5 separate regions of the Homo sapiens genome follow, and all the other regions are linked to region 3. Evidence: promoter capture Hi-C in 16 types of primary human blood cells and fetal thymus (Javierre and others, 2016). All regions are on one chromosome and are shown on one strand. Each heading gives the region's core, a stretch centred on a gene start or on the middle of the fragment in contact. The rest is flanking DNA. Distances are from core to core; before and after follow the strand shown.

Evidence for each region. The method cuts DNA at HindIII sites, captures the fragments that hold promoters and counts their contacts. A CHiCAGO score of 5 or more calls a contact.
Region 1: the fragment with the promoter of PLEKHM2 here is called in contact with the fragment with the promoter of CLCNKB in region 3 in 13 of 17 cell types (M0 macrophages, neutrophils, endothelial precursors and 10 more); the score reaches 10.6 in M0 macrophages.
Region 2: a contact is called between the fragment with the promoter of RSC1A1 here and the fragment with the promoter of CLCNKB in region 3, in 13 of 17 cell types (non-activated CD4 T cells, activated CD4 T cells, naive CD8 T cells and 10 more). The highest score is 10.2, in non-activated CD4 T cells.
Region 4: a contact is called between the fragment with the promoter of SPATA21 here and the fragment with the promoter of CLCNKB in region 3, in 4 of 17 cell types (endothelial precursors, M1 macrophages, monocytes and 1 more). The highest score is 8.2, in endothelial precursors.
Region 5: the fragment with the promoter of SLC25A34 here is called in contact with the fragment with the promoter of CLCNKB in region 3 in 4 of 17 cell types (erythroblasts, naive CD8 T cells, neutrophils and 1 more); the score reaches 10.4 in erythroblasts.

What each region holds. Positions count from the first base shown.
Region 1 is chr1:15,683,035-15,685,734 of GRCh38, forward strand. PLEKHM2 (pleckstrin homology and RUN domain containing M2) reads left to right here and starts at 1,286. Exons shown (of 20, transcript NM_015164.4): 1 at 1,286-1,584. The coding sequence starts at 1,525. RefSeq lists silencers at 1,140-1,219, 1,310-1,389, 1,910-1,979 and an enhancer at 2,210-2,269. The HindIII fragment of the contact is 15,543 bases long and covers 1-2,700 here.
Region 2 is chr1:15,658,434-15,661,133 of GRCh38, forward strand. RSC1A1 (regulator of solute carriers 1) reads left to right here and starts at 1,280. Exons shown (of 1, transcript NM_006511.3): 1 at 1,280-2,700. The coding sequence starts at 1,436. It overlaps DDI2 (DDI proteasomal shuttling factor 2), which reads left to right. Exons shown (of 10, transcript NM_032341.5): 10 at 1,404-2,700. The HindIII fragment of the contact is 1,265 bases long and covers 716-1,980 here.
Region 3 is chr1:16,042,351-16,045,050 of GRCh38, forward strand. CLCNKB (chloride voltage-gated channel Kb) reads left to right here and starts at 1,432. Exons shown (of 20, transcript NM_000085.5): 1 at 1,432-1,530; 2 at 2,136-2,242. The coding sequence starts at 2,143. The HindIII fragment of the contact is 13,884 bases long and covers 1-2,700 here.
Region 4 is chr1:16,435,988-16,438,687 of GRCh38, forward strand. SPATA21 (spermatogenesis associated 21) reads right to left here and starts at 1,437. Exons shown (of 13, transcript NM_198546.1): 1 at 1,141-1,437. RefSeq lists a silencer at 2,167-2,337. The HindIII fragment of the contact is 2,188 bases long and covers 1,101-2,700 here.
Region 5 is chr1:15,734,808-15,737,507 of GRCh38, forward strand. SLC25A34 (solute carrier family 25 member 34) reads left to right here and starts at 1,451. Exons shown (of 5, transcript NM_207348.3): 1 at 1,451-2,056. The coding sequence starts at 1,679. RefSeq lists enhancers at 1-550, 551-1,317. The HindIII fragment of the contact is 4,526 bases long and covers 1-2,700 here.

The DNA.
Region 1 (2,700 bases), core at 36-2,535, 360 kb before region 3:
CTTGGGATACGTGGGGCTGAAGAAGAGGGATAAGGATAAGGAGTGGGAATGGGGCATTGGGGCTGAAGGTGAGGAGGGTGTGTTTTGGGGGTGGGGAGGAACACCAGGGACCTCAAATGTAGGACTGGGCCTTGAGGGTGAGGCACTGAGGAGGGGAGGCTGTGGAGGGCCAGGGGGCCCAGGGAGGGTCTAGGGCTGGGGACTGGAGTCTAGGCTGACCCGGTGGGGGTGCTGGGTCCTCCAGGCTGCGAAAGCCAGGGGGCCTGGGTCTGCACATTGAGGGGGTGGCTGGGCTAAGGAAGGGGAGGAAGATAAGTGGGGCTTGCAGGCTAAGAGGGTCTTGGGGTCCCTGGCCAGAGTTAGTGGGGTGCACTGGGGTCTCCAAGGAGGGGTCTGTGGACTAAAGAGGGCCGGCGGGAGGGGGCCCAGGGTCTGTGGGTGTCTCGAGTCTCTGAGGAGGGCCGGGGTCTCAGGGTCTGTGGGGGTCTCTGGCCTGTGGGGTCGGAGTCTCCAGAGTCCTTGGGGCCTGTGGGAGTCTCTGGGGTTTTGTGGGGGGATCCTGTGGGCTGAGGAGGGCTGTGGGGAGGGTCTCAGGGTCTCTGGGGAGGGCCAGTGCCTCGGGGTCTTTGGGGGTCTCTGAGGAGGGCTGGGGGCCCAGGGTCTGTGGGGGTCCCCAGCAGGTGGGGTTGGGGTCTCCGGAGTCCCTGGAGTCTGAGGGTGTCTCTGAGGTCCCAGGGGGGAGTCTATGGCCTGAGGGCTGAGGGGGAGGGTCTCCAGGGTCTCTGAGGAGGGCCGGTGTCCCGGGCAGGCGGGGTCGGGGTCTCCGGAGTTCCTGGGGTCTGAGGGTGTCTCTGGGGTCCCTGAGGGAATCTGTGGGCTGACGAGGCCTGGGGGAGGGTCTCCGAGGAGGGCCGGGGTCCCAGGGTCTGTGGGGGTCTCTGGCAGGCGGGGTCGGGGTGTCCGGAGTCCCTGGGGTCTGAGGGTGTCTCTGGGGTCCCTGAAGGAATCTGTGGGCTGAGGAGGGCTTGGGGAGGGTCTCTGAGGAGCCCCGAGGTCCCCGGCAGGCGGGGTCGAGGTCTCTGGCGTCCCTGGGGTCTGAGGGTGTCTCTGGGGTGCCGGGGAGAGTCTGTGACTTGAGGAGGGCTGGGGGCGGGTCTCGGGGTCTCTGGGGAGGGCCGCGGCCAAGGGTCTGTGCGGGTCTCCGGGTCCCCGGAGTCCCCAGGCGCAGGCGGGCCCTGGCGCCGCCCCGCCTGACATCAGTTCCTGCCGCCGCCGCCGCCGCGGCGCACAGCCCGCGGCCTCCTTCCCCGCCGGCCGCGCTCCGGAGCCTCCGGGCCGCGGTGGAGCGAGGGCCCAGGCGAGGCGAGGGCCGGGCGGCGGGCGCCGGGCCCCGCGGCCGGCACGACGGAGCCCCCGTACGGCCGGCGGCAGCGGTTGGCGGCGGCCCCCGGCCCCCGGCGCGGGAAGCGGCGGCGGGGCGGCGGCGGCGGTGGCGGTGGCGGTGGCGGCGACGGTGGCAGCGCCATGGAGCCGGGGGAGGTGAAGGACCGGATCCTGGAGAACATCTCGCTGTCGGTGAAGAAGGTGAGCGCGGCCTCCCTCCCGGCCGGGGCCCCTTCCTCGCCGCGCCCCCCACGCCCTCCGGCGGCGCTCTCCCGGGCCGGGGCCCCCCGCCCTTCCCCTCCGCGACCCGGGGGGCGACGAGCGGCCGGGAGCCCCGGGCCGGTAGAGGGGAAGCGGCGCCGCTCACGTGAGCGCCGCGGCCTCGGAGCTATTTTTAAAGAACAAAGTTGAGGTCAGCATCCTCGGAGCTTCCCCAAACCTGGCCCGGGGCCCTGCCCTCCCGGAGAGGGGTCAGCGACCCTCCGGTCCCCCACTGGGGCAGCGGCGCCCCCGGGAGCTCCTGAAGGAACCCCATGCAGCCTCCTGTGGAATCCGCTGCATCCCCGGGTCCCCCCGCCAGGCTGGCGTCGCCCAGGGTCTGGCAGTCAGGGTGGAGGCCAGTGATAAGCAACTTCACTTTCCCATGGCCTGGGTCCCGGCGACATTGCCTCTGCTCCTGGGAAGTCCCCTGAATAATCTTGCTCAAGGATGGTAGCTTTGAAGAGGTTCACTAGGGGCTTTGATTATAAGAACCTGAAGTACATGGGGATTGCATTTTGGATGCTGATCCGGGGAACCGGGTGACACCACAGACACCTTGCTGTGGGGCTTGCCGCAGTAAACATCACTGTCCCAATTCCAGGTAGAAATGAGTACATACCTGTCAAGGGCATGTATTTGTGATGAAGTTGGCATATCCGCAAAAGGGTCCGTGCTAGAAGGTAGAATCCATATTCTGACGTTTTTGGGCTGGATATAAAAATAATAATAATAAATTTAAAAGAATCCATATTCACTGAAAACCTAAATGGCCAAATCAGAATGGATTTTTCTCTCTCTCTCCCTCTCTGTGTGTGTGTTTGTGTAATTTGAATTCCTGGCTCACCAGATAGTCTCAGAAACTGAAAAAAAAAAAAAAAAAAAGAAAGAAAGAAAGAAAAAAGAGAAAGAAAATGGCTTGGGTGAGGGACTCAGCAGCTTATTTTACTTGAAGAAGCAAAATGGATAGAATTAATTAGATCAACCATCATATTTAAATAATTGTCTGTTTTCCCACTGAGATTCCTCAAAAGCAACACAGGCAAGCTATTTTACCTT
Region 2 (2,700 bases), core at 30-2,529, 380 kb before region 3:
GCCACTGTGCCCAGCCCTTTTTGATTTTTAATTAAAGATCTTACAATGGTCGGGTGCGGTGGCTCTTGCCTGTAATCCAAGCACTTTGGGAGGCTGAGGCGGGCGGATCACCTGAGGTCAAGAGTTTGAGACCACCCTGACCAACGTGGAGAAACCTCATCTCTACTAAAAATGCAAAATTAGTCGGGTGTGTGGCGCATGCATGTAATCCCAGCTACTCTGAGGCAGGAGAATCGCTTGGACCCGGGAGGCGGAGGTTGCGGTGAGCTCAGATGGCGCCATTGTACTCCTGTCTGGGCAACAAGAGCAAAACACAGTCTTAAAAAAAAAAAAAAATTCTTACACTTACATGCGTAGAGGTCAATTTTTAACTGGATTGGTGGCAAAAGAAGAGCTGGAAATGATGTTTAATGATACTATGATGCTTACACTGAGCCGTCTTGTTTGGGTGGTCTAAGGTAGCAGTGAATCTAAATAGTCATTGCCAGTTGAAAAACTATTAATGAACCATCTCCCTCCACATTCCCCTTTCTTTAAAACATTTAAATATTCTTAACTTAGTTGCACACTATTGATGTGATAAAAACTTATAAGCCTTTTAAGTTTAGAGTTGTATTATTTGGTAGGATGATGATTGTGATTTAATCTGCTGATCATTAGTTTACTTTTGTTTTCTGAGTCAGATGCTCACCCAGTTTTACCATGATTTTTGGAAAGCTTGGCTAGAAATAAAATAGAACATTTGCTTCTCTGTCCCCAAGCATTATGTTATTTCTTATTTCTCTTTATAATTCCCTCTCTGTCCAGGTATACCTGGTTTAAGACTTCTCATTTGTAACCTCAGTGTTCACATTTGAAACAAGAAAAGTGCATTAACATGAGAATCATTCTGGTGCAAAGATTCTCAGGATTTGTAATATCCTTAAGAATCACCCAAGGAGCTTATTGAAAATGCACATTCCTGGATTTACTCTCAAGTATGGTACCCCAGGGTCTGCATACTTCACAAGCGTCCCTGGTGGTTTTAGGGCAAGTGGTGAAAAAAGTACACTTGGAGAAACTATTCTAGAGTTGTAGACTAGACTAGGGAATAAAGAAACATAAATGTCCTTCATTCCTGAGCACTAACCCCGCCATTATGTGAATGCATATTAATGGATACTTAATCACATTGAATTACAGTATGCAGATTTTATTAAGAACATGTCTACCTCTTATTCTGATGCTGTGAATGTCTACCACAATGAGAAAGTAATTTTAAAATCATTTCTATTTGTGTAAGAGAAACCCGAGTTTGAGGACCTTATTTTATTCTACGCTGTTTAGATTTGTATCCTCTGGTAATTTAGTGGCATTAGTCACCTGCTAATTAATCTTTTTCCTTTCCCCTGTGTTCCATATAGAGAAAAGTGGTAAAGAATCTACCTCACTGGGAATGTCATCATTACCAACTTCAGATGGGTTTAACCATCCCGCCCGTTCTTCAGGACAGAGTCCTGATGTTGGTAATCCTATGAGTCTTGCTCGCTCTGTCTCTGCTTCAGTCTGCCCTATCAAGCCCAGTGACTCAGATCGCATTGAACCTAAAGCTGTGAAGGCTTTGAAGGCTTCAGCTGAATTCCAGCTAAACTCTGAAAAGAAAGAACATCTTTCTTTACAAGATCTTTCTGATCATGCTTCCTCAGCAGACCATGCTCCAACAGACCAGAGTCCAGCTATGCCTATGCAGAATTCATCCGAAGAAATAACTGTTGCAGGTAATCTGGAGAAATCTGCTGAAAGAAGCACCCAGGGCCTCAAATTTCATCTCCATACAAGACAGGAAGCTAGTTTATCTGTCACATCTACTAGGATGCATGAACCACAGATGTTTCTAGGTGAAAAGGATTGGCATCCAGAAAATCAGAACCTGAGTCAAGTGAGTGACCCTCAGCAGCACGAAGAACCAGGGAATGAACAGTATGAGGTTGCACAACAAAAAGCTTCACATGACCAAGAATATCTTTGTAACATAGGGGACCTTGAGCTTCCTGAAGAAAGGCAACAGAATCAACACAAAATTGTTGATTTGGAAGCTACGATGAAAGGAAATGGGCTCCCACAGAATGTGGATCCTCCAAGTGCGAAGAAAAGTATTCCATCTTCAGAATGCAGTGGCTGCTCAAATTCAGAAACATTTATGGAAATCGATACAGCTCAACAGTCCCTAGTTACTTTGCTTAATTCAACAGGCAGGCAGAATGCCAATGTCAAGAACATTGGTGCATTGGATCTCACTTTAGATAATCCCTTGATGGAAGTAGAAACATCAAAATGTAACCCTTCATCTGAAATTTTGAATGATTCCATTTCCACTCAGGATTTACAGCCCCCAGAAACTAATGTTGAAATACCTGGAACAAATAAAGAATATGGCCATTACTCCTCTCCAAGTCTCTGTGGCAGTTGTCAGCCTTCTGTGGAGTCAGCAGAAGAATCTTGCCCGTCTATAACGGCAGCCTTGAAAGAACTTCATGAACTTTTGGTTGTTAGCAGTAAACCAGCTTCAGAAAATACATCTGAAGAAGTAATCTGTCAATCAGAAACCATAGCTGAGGGCCAAACCAGTATTAAAGACCTTTCTGAAAGATGGACCCAAAATGAGCATCTTACCCAGAATGAACAGTGTCCACAAGTCTCCTTTCATCAGGCCATATCTGT
Region 3 (2,700 bases), core at 182-2,681:
TGTGGGACAGTAGCCAGCAGCTGCCCCAGACCAGACACTGGGGATCCGGATGTTGACAGGGCAGCCAGTTCTGGTGCTGTGCAGAGTCAACAGGTCAGGGTGGCCAAGATGAAGGTGGGCTCGGGTTCATGCAGAGCGGCAACCCCCATCCCACCTCCCACAACACACACCTTCAATTTTGATTTGACTTGCCTGGCATCTAGGGGCAAAGGGTGGCCCAGGGTCCCAGATTTTAACAATCATCCAAGGGCCATCATGTTATTCAGAGAGTGGCTTTGTCTGGGTAGGACTGGAGGCAATTGCCCCCAACATCTTGCCCCAAAGTGGCATCAGACACAACTCTTCTGTTCTGTGCCCAAACCATTGCCCTGGTTCAGCCTCAGGAGCTGGAGGAGCTTTGGGCAGGGGAAGAGCTGCACAGTGTGGGGCTGGGTTCAGCCTCTGCTGTGTGACCTTGGATGAGTGACTCACCTCTCTGACCATCTACAAAATGGCGAGGCTCTCCCCATTCACAGGGTGTGGGGAGGAGGACTTGAGCTGCGGATGTGACGCTTCTGACACGTTGCAGGCACACGGCACGTGCTTGTTCCTCGCCATGTCCCCTCACACCTGTGCTGCCATCCTCTGTTGGGGTGGGACAAACTCTGTGGAATTACCCAGAAGTCCCCACCAGAGCCGCTGGCCCTTGGACGTGTGCTTTGAGAGGCATTTCCTGAGCCTGGAGGGTCTGGACACAGGATCAAGTCTGAGTTCCTGACCCCAATTCACTGCCTTGCCCCAGGTGTCGGCCTCCTCGCCAGCCCTGGACAAGATGGGTCATCAGGATGGGACCGTGTGGCACAGCCTGCGGGCTTTGGAGCCAGGCAAACCTGGGCTGGGAATCCTGGCGCTGCCTCGGCCTCCGTGATCTTAGACGGGCAGCCCCACCTCCCTGAGACACCATTTCTCTACAACGGGATCACGCTGCCTGCCTCGTGGGATTTCCGTGGGCACTCAGGGTAATTAATCTAGGGGAAGGCTGACTCTCTACCTGGCACACAGGGAGGCTGTGGTCATGCTGGCCCCACTCACCTTTGCCGGCCTGCTTTCTCCTTCTCTGCCCAGCCTCCTCCCCTCTCCCTCTGTGCTTTTCCAAACCTTCCATGTCCAGCTCTGAGACCCCTGGACCCTGAGCCTCAGCCTTGGCAGATGACCCCTCTCTGTCCTGCTGTGTGCGTGAGCTCCCCCTTCCCAGCCCCCGTCCAGCAGCACCCAGGAGCCTGAGTACAGCTGGGCACCACCCTCTGTGCAGCTATGGTGGGTGGGGAGGCTCCTGTTCCCCTCCCTGTTGGCAGCTCTGCTCTGCTCTGCTCCGGCCTGGGCAGTTCTGATCGGTTTTCAAGGACATTCTAAGTGTTCGCCATAAACCCTGGGCCCAGGCGGGAAAGGGGGGAGGATGTTGATTGTTGGAACACACACCTGTCCAGGTGCAGGGGAGCTGGAGGCTCTGTGAGAGGAGGGCCAGCTCAGCCACAGCAGGAGGACTGACAGGTGAGGGGTCGCTGCAAGATGCTGGGGCCTGCCAGGGCCAGACAGGCAGGGCGGGGGGGGGGGGGTGGTAAGGGCAGGAGCCAGCACCTCACTTTGGCCCTGGTGGGATCTTCTTCTGGGCCTGGGGTTTTGCTGCCTCTGTGGCCTGAGCTGGGGTCAGGGGTGCTCATAGGTGGACAGGGAGAGTCAGAGCCATCCATGGGACTCTGCAGTGAGAGTGTCACAGCCCTGGGCAGAGACTGCTCCCAGCAGTGGAAGCGCCAAGTGACCCAGGAGGGTGGGAGCGGCTGCCACCGAAGGGGAAGGGGCTCTGAGCAGGGCTTGGGCTCCGGCCTGTGCCCAGTCTGCTGCTGGACACAGGGGGACACCTAGGAATCCCACCCCCATCCCACACAATGACACACACAGGCACACACCCTCAGTGACGGAAACTCAGGGATGAAGGCACACACAGACCTAGTGTGATAACTTCACATACACACACACACACACACACACGCACAATCTTTCCTCTTCATGGGTGGGGAGAGCACTGGAAGGGCCTAGAGGCAGTGCGAGGACGTGCAGCAGCTCACCGCGGTCCCTCCCTCTATCCGCTTCTCCAGGGGCCTGATGGAGGAGTTTGTGGGGCTGCGTGAAGGCTCCTCAGGGAACCCTGTGACTCTGCAGGAGCTGTGGGGCCCCTGTCCCCGCATCCGCCGAGGCATCCGAGGTGAGAGCCAGGTCCTCTTCCCTTCCCCCTGGAGGACCACTCAGGACATCATTCCTGCCCAGCTCCCACCCCACCTCCCTGCCCAGGAACCACCCTCCTCCTGGCATTTGTCCAGGACATGACTGCCCAAAGTCTCCTGGGTGGCAGGGAGGGAAGGGGTCTGTCTGTCCAGCTGTCTGTGGGTCAGATGGGCCGGGCATCTGCCCTCTGCCTTTCGGGAGATACAGCCCAAGGCCTGGTCACTGTGCCCATCTTCCACCCAGGCCTCTCCCTCACCTACCTGTGCCAATGAGGGGACGTGGGGGTTAGCTGCTGGGACAGCTGGGGCCACAGCAAGGGGCTGGGGCAGCCTACACTTGGCACCTTTCCTTGGAGCCCCATGTGCTTTGTTCACTTTGAGACCTGACTGTCCCCTCAGCTACGGGGCAGAGCAAGTAGGGACCACAGAAGGAGGCTGA
Region 4 (2,700 bases), core at 187-2,686, 390 kb after region 3:
CACACCTGTAATCCCAGCACTCTGGGAGGCTGAGGCGGGCGGATCATGAGGTCAGGAGTTTGAGACCAGCCTGGCCAGCAAGGTGAAACCCCATCTCTACTAAAGATACAAAAAATTAGCTGAGTGTGGTGGTGCGTGCCTGTAATCCCAGCACTTTGGGAGGCCGAGGCGGGCAGATCACCTGAGGTTGGGAGTTTGAGACCAGCCTGACCAACATGGAGAAACCCCGTCTCTACTAAAAGTACAGAATTAGCCGGGCATGGTGGCACATGCCTGTAATCCCAGCTAGTCAGGAGGCTGAGGCAGGAGAATTGCTTGAACCTGGCAGGTGGAGGGTTGCAGTGAGCCGAGATCGCACCATTGCACTCCAGCCTAGATGACAGGGTGAGACTCTGTCTCAAAAAAAAAAAAAAAAAATACAGATAGGGTGCAGTGTATACTGCTCAGGTGATGGGTGGACCAAAATCTTACAAATCACCACTAAAGAACCTACTCATGCAGGGCAAGGTGGCTCACGCCTGTAATCCCAGAACTTTGGGATGCCAAGGGGGGCAGATCACTCGAGGTCAGGAGTTTGAGATCACCCTGGCTAACATGGTGAAATCCTGTTTCTACTAAAAATACAAAAATTAGCTGGGCATGGTGGTGCCTGCCTGTAATCCTAGGTACTTGGGAGGCTGAGGCAGGAGAATCGCTTGAACCTGGGAGATGGAGGTTGCAGTGAGCAGAGACTGCACCACTACACGCCAGCCTGGGCAACAGAGCAAGACTCCGTCTCAAAAAAAATTACTAATGTAAACAAAAAAAAAACACCAAAAAACAAAAACCTTAGTCATGTAGCCAAATACCACCTGTACCCCAATAACCTATGGAAAAACAAATAAATAAATAAATAAATAAAAAGTTTTGAAATCAGGAAGTGTGAGTCCTCCAACTTTGTTCTTTTTCAAAATTCTTTGGGTATTGAGTGCCCCTTTTATAAGTGGTTTCCTCATCTGAAAAATGGGAGAATTTCTCTTGGAAATATCTATGATGGCAGGAAAATACAGCAGATAAAGATAAGTGGCATATCATATATATGTCTGGAGGCCGTCAGGGAAAGCTTGTTCACCTTACACCCCACCTTGGCCCTGCACCTACCAGAAATCAGCTGGATGAGTCACAGTGAGATTTTCCACCCCTGCTCACCGCCTTGCACATAGGATGGGCTCTGTCTGAGCCTATACTTTGCCTGTTGGCTTGAATTGGATTTGTTTGGTATACAGGGCAGTTAAACTGGGAATAGATGGCAGGTCCAATTATTCTCAGCAGCAGAGGTTTAGGAATGCATTTCAGGAATATCCAGCCATGTGGTTAGGGTTTGAGAATAAGGCAAGGGGCTGTGTGACCTCCAACTACTGGACAGTGTCATTTCCCCCAGCTTGTCACTGGTTCAGTGGCCCCCATTACACAATGAAGATAACAATCGTTGCCTTGCCAACCTCACAGTGATTATTGGGCCAGGGTACTCTCTCCCAGAAAGCCTTCCCTGACTCTCCCCAGACTGTGTGGGGTTTCTTCTCTTTGCTCCCACAGGCCCCTGTGAATTTGCTTCATTACAGTACCTTTCATTCTGCTTTGCCAATGACTGCTTTTCTCTCTGTCTCCTCCAGTCTGCGAGCTCCAGGATGGTAGGAGCTGGATTGGCCACATCCCAGTGACCCCAGTACTCAGCACCTGGCATAGGGTATGTGCTCGATGCCTGTCTTTGTTAGACTGAACAGAACTGAAAGTGCTCTGAATGGCTGGGTGCGGTGGCTCACACCTGTAATCCCAGCACTTTGGGAGGCCGAGGTGGGTGGATCACTTGAGGTCGAGTTATAGACCAGCCTGGCCAACATGGTGAAACCCCGTCTCTACTAAAAATACAAAAATTAGCCAGGCATGGTGGCGCATGCCTGTAATCCCAGCTACTTAGGAGGCTGAGGCACGAGAATCACTTGAACCTGGGAGGCAGAAGTTGCAGTGAGCTGAGATCATGCCACTGTCTTCCAGCCTGGGTGGTAGAGTGAGACTTAGTCTCAAAAAAAAAAAAATTGGAAAATAAGGCCAGGTATGGTGGCTCATGCCTATAATCCTAGCACTTTGGAAGGCTGAGGCAGGAGGATCTCTTGAAGACAGGAATTCAAGACCAGCCTGGGCAACATAGCAAGACCCCCGTCTCTACAAAAAGTAAGAAAAATAGCAGGGTAGGGTGGTGTGTGCCTGTAGGCCCAGCTACTCAAAAGGTTGAGGCAGGAGGATCCCTTGAGCCCGGGAATTTGAGGCTGCAGTGAGTGATGATCGCACCATTGCACTCCAGTGTGGGGTGACAGAGAGAGAAAGAAAGAGAGAGACCCTGTCTAAAAAAAAAAAAAAAAAGAAAAGAAAAAGAAAAGAAAAGAAAAGAAAAATAACCAATATTTGCAAAAATGTGAAGAAATTGAAACCCTTGTGAACGTAAATGGTGCTGCTGCTGTGGAAGACAGTTTGGAGGCTCCTCAAAAAGGTGAGCAAGGCCGGACATGGTGGTTCACACCTGTAGTCCCAGCTACTTGGGAGGCTGAGTTGGGAGGATCACTTGAGCCTGGGAGGTTGAGGCTGCAGTGAGCCATGATCATGCCAGTGCTTTCCAGCCTGGGCAACAGAGTGAGATGCTGTTTCAAACAAAACAAAACAAAA
Region 5 (2,700 bases), core at 201-2,700, 310 kb before region 3:
GGAGCTCTCCAAATCCCTTGGGCCCTTTTCTGCAAACCTTCCTCCATCATCTGCCCTGTGCCTGACACAAGGGACACACGGGACATGCAGAACCAGATCAGCCACCGCTGCCGGGCGGACTCACCGTCTGCAGACCCTCAGGCCCTGGGAGTTTCTCGGCCCGACCTTTGCCCTCCGTCCTGTTCCTGTTTGCTGCAGCAGCCAGGGGAGGAGCAGCCACCAGCTCAAGCCCCAGGGCACGTCTGCACCGCCGCCCACCATCTGCAGCCCACCCCGGGGCAGGACGCTCCTGCCTCCACAGCCCCGGGGGTGAGTGCCCAAACCCAGGAGAATCCAAGCTGTCCTCGCTGCCTCTTGCTGCGCCGTCCCCTCCAGGGCTGGCCAGAGGGTGACAACCCTGCCAGGCCGGGAGCCTGAGGCCCTCAAGCCACTCAGCATTGCTGCCTCAAGGGCCTGGGAGGGAAGGGGTGGGCCCTGGGAGGTGGGTGTGGGACTCCAACTTGGGTGGTTCTGCCTCTAGTTTGGACTGGGCCTTGGGTGACTGAGGGTGGCCTGGCAGGAGAGAGCTGTCTGGGGGCAGAGGCCAAGGTGGGCATGTTGGTACCGGCCCCAGCCTGAGCAGACACACCTGACAGCTGGCCCAGGTGGCGTTCTCTTCTCAGCGGGCACAAAGGGCATCCCAGGGCAGGCCTGGCAGCAAGTCCTTACCAGCCAAGGTCACTCCTCAAGTCCTACTCACCCAGGTGCCCTGAAGTCCTGGGAGCAGCGAGGGGGGCATAGGAGCCAGAGGCAGTGGGGGTGGGGGCGAGCAGGCGATGCGGGTGCCTTTATCGGGTGCAGCACTGACCTAGGCACACTCTTCTCATCGCCAGTCCTCCACAGAACCTTCTGGAGTGGATGTCAGTATCTCCATTTTACAAATGAGAGAAACTGAAGCTCTGAGAGGAAGTGACTTGCCCAGGGGTCACACATGAGAGCCACACCTGGGATTCCAATCAGCTCCCCAGGGCTCCAGAGCCCTTCTCTACTTCTGACCCTGCTGAGCATGGGCCTATAGACGGTGGGAGCCAGACTGAAGACTTGAGTCCTGGAAAGGGGAAGTCAGTCACCAGGGGCATATCAGGGGCAGGGTGGGGCAGGGGCGGAGTTGGCCGTGTACCCCATGCCAGGGACCTCCCAGTCACTTGCCCCCTGCCTAGGGCTCTGCCAAAGCTGGACAGGCTAAGCCAGAGGCAAGGCAGGGGTGCCAGCCCTTTGCCCAGGGCCAGAGGGAGGCCAGGAGGAGGTGCCTGGGCTGGTTGGCACCTTCTCCCTATCCACGCTCTCCCTCCAGTCCCAAGTGACCTTTCCCCCAGATCCCAGGGTCCAGGCCCGCCCTCGGCTGGCAGGTGTGGGCACAGAGGCAGCTGGGATTGGTCGCAGCTGGCGGAGGCGCGTCCCAGGCTCCGGCAGACCGCTGGAACAGCTGAGCAGAGCAGGTGGACTGCTGAGATAGACCAGGGACACCAGGCAGCCACAGGCCTGTCAGACCAGGACCCTTACCCTCTAGACATGGCCTCGGTCCCCTGCAAACCCCAGCCCCGTAGCCCTGCGAGGTTACAGACAGCCTAAACGCCACCACCACAGGGCCTGTGCCGTGCCCCTGACCCGGGCACAGAAGGCCACTGGCCCGGAGGCCATGGAGACGGTGCCCCCAGCAGTGGACCTGGTGCTGGGTGCTTCTGCCTGCTGCCTGGCCTGTGTCTTCACCAACCCCCTGGAGGTGGTGAAGACGCGGCTGCAGCTGCAGGGGGAGCTGCAGGCCCGGGGCACCTACCCACGGCCCTACCATGGCTTCATAGCCTCTGTCGCTGCTGTGGCCCGAGCAGACGGGCTGTGGGGCCTGCAGAAGGGGCTGGCTGCCGGCCTTCTGTACCAAGGCCTCATGAATGGCGTTCGTTTCTACTGCTACAGCCTGGCGTGCCAGGCTGGCCTCACGCAGCAACCAGGTGGCACCGTGGTTGCGGGAGCCGTGGCGGGGGCACTGGGAGCCTTCGTGGGGAGCCCTGCTTACCTGGTGAGTGGCTTGTCTCCATCGTCCACCCTCCACCATCCCATGACCCAGCTCCCACAGGGGCCCTGCAGCCTCCAAAGGCAGGGCTCAGTGGACCTGGGTGGGGTGGGGCAGCCGGGGTGGGGCTGCTCCCTGGAACATCCTAGCCCAAGCCTGGAATCTGCCCCTTGGCCCAGGGCCTTGCTCTGATCCATGCTCCCCTGCGGTCCCTGCCCCACTGGTCCTGAGCCAGGGGAGGGGGCAGAGGGTGTCAGATGTGCTGGCTCAAATCCTGGCTTGGTTACTTCTCTTCCCGCATGGCCTCATGTACGATAAGAATAAAAGCTACCCTTGAGGGCCTCCGCCTCGTGTGCACTCTGCAGGGGGGCCTCAGGGCCACCCAAAACAAATAAAAAATTAAAAAATGTTTTGAAGAAAGCTACCCTTGGCTGGGTGCAGTGGCTCACGCCTGTAATCCCAGCACTTTGGGAGGCCGAGGCGGGCAGATCACCTGAGGTCAGGAGTTTGAGACCAGCATGGTCAACATGGTGAAACCCTGTCTCTGCTAAAAAGTACAAAAATTAGCTGGGCGTGGTGATGCATGCCTGTAATCCCAGCTACCGGGGAGGCTGAGGCAGGAGAATCACTTGAGCCCAGTTGGCAGAGCT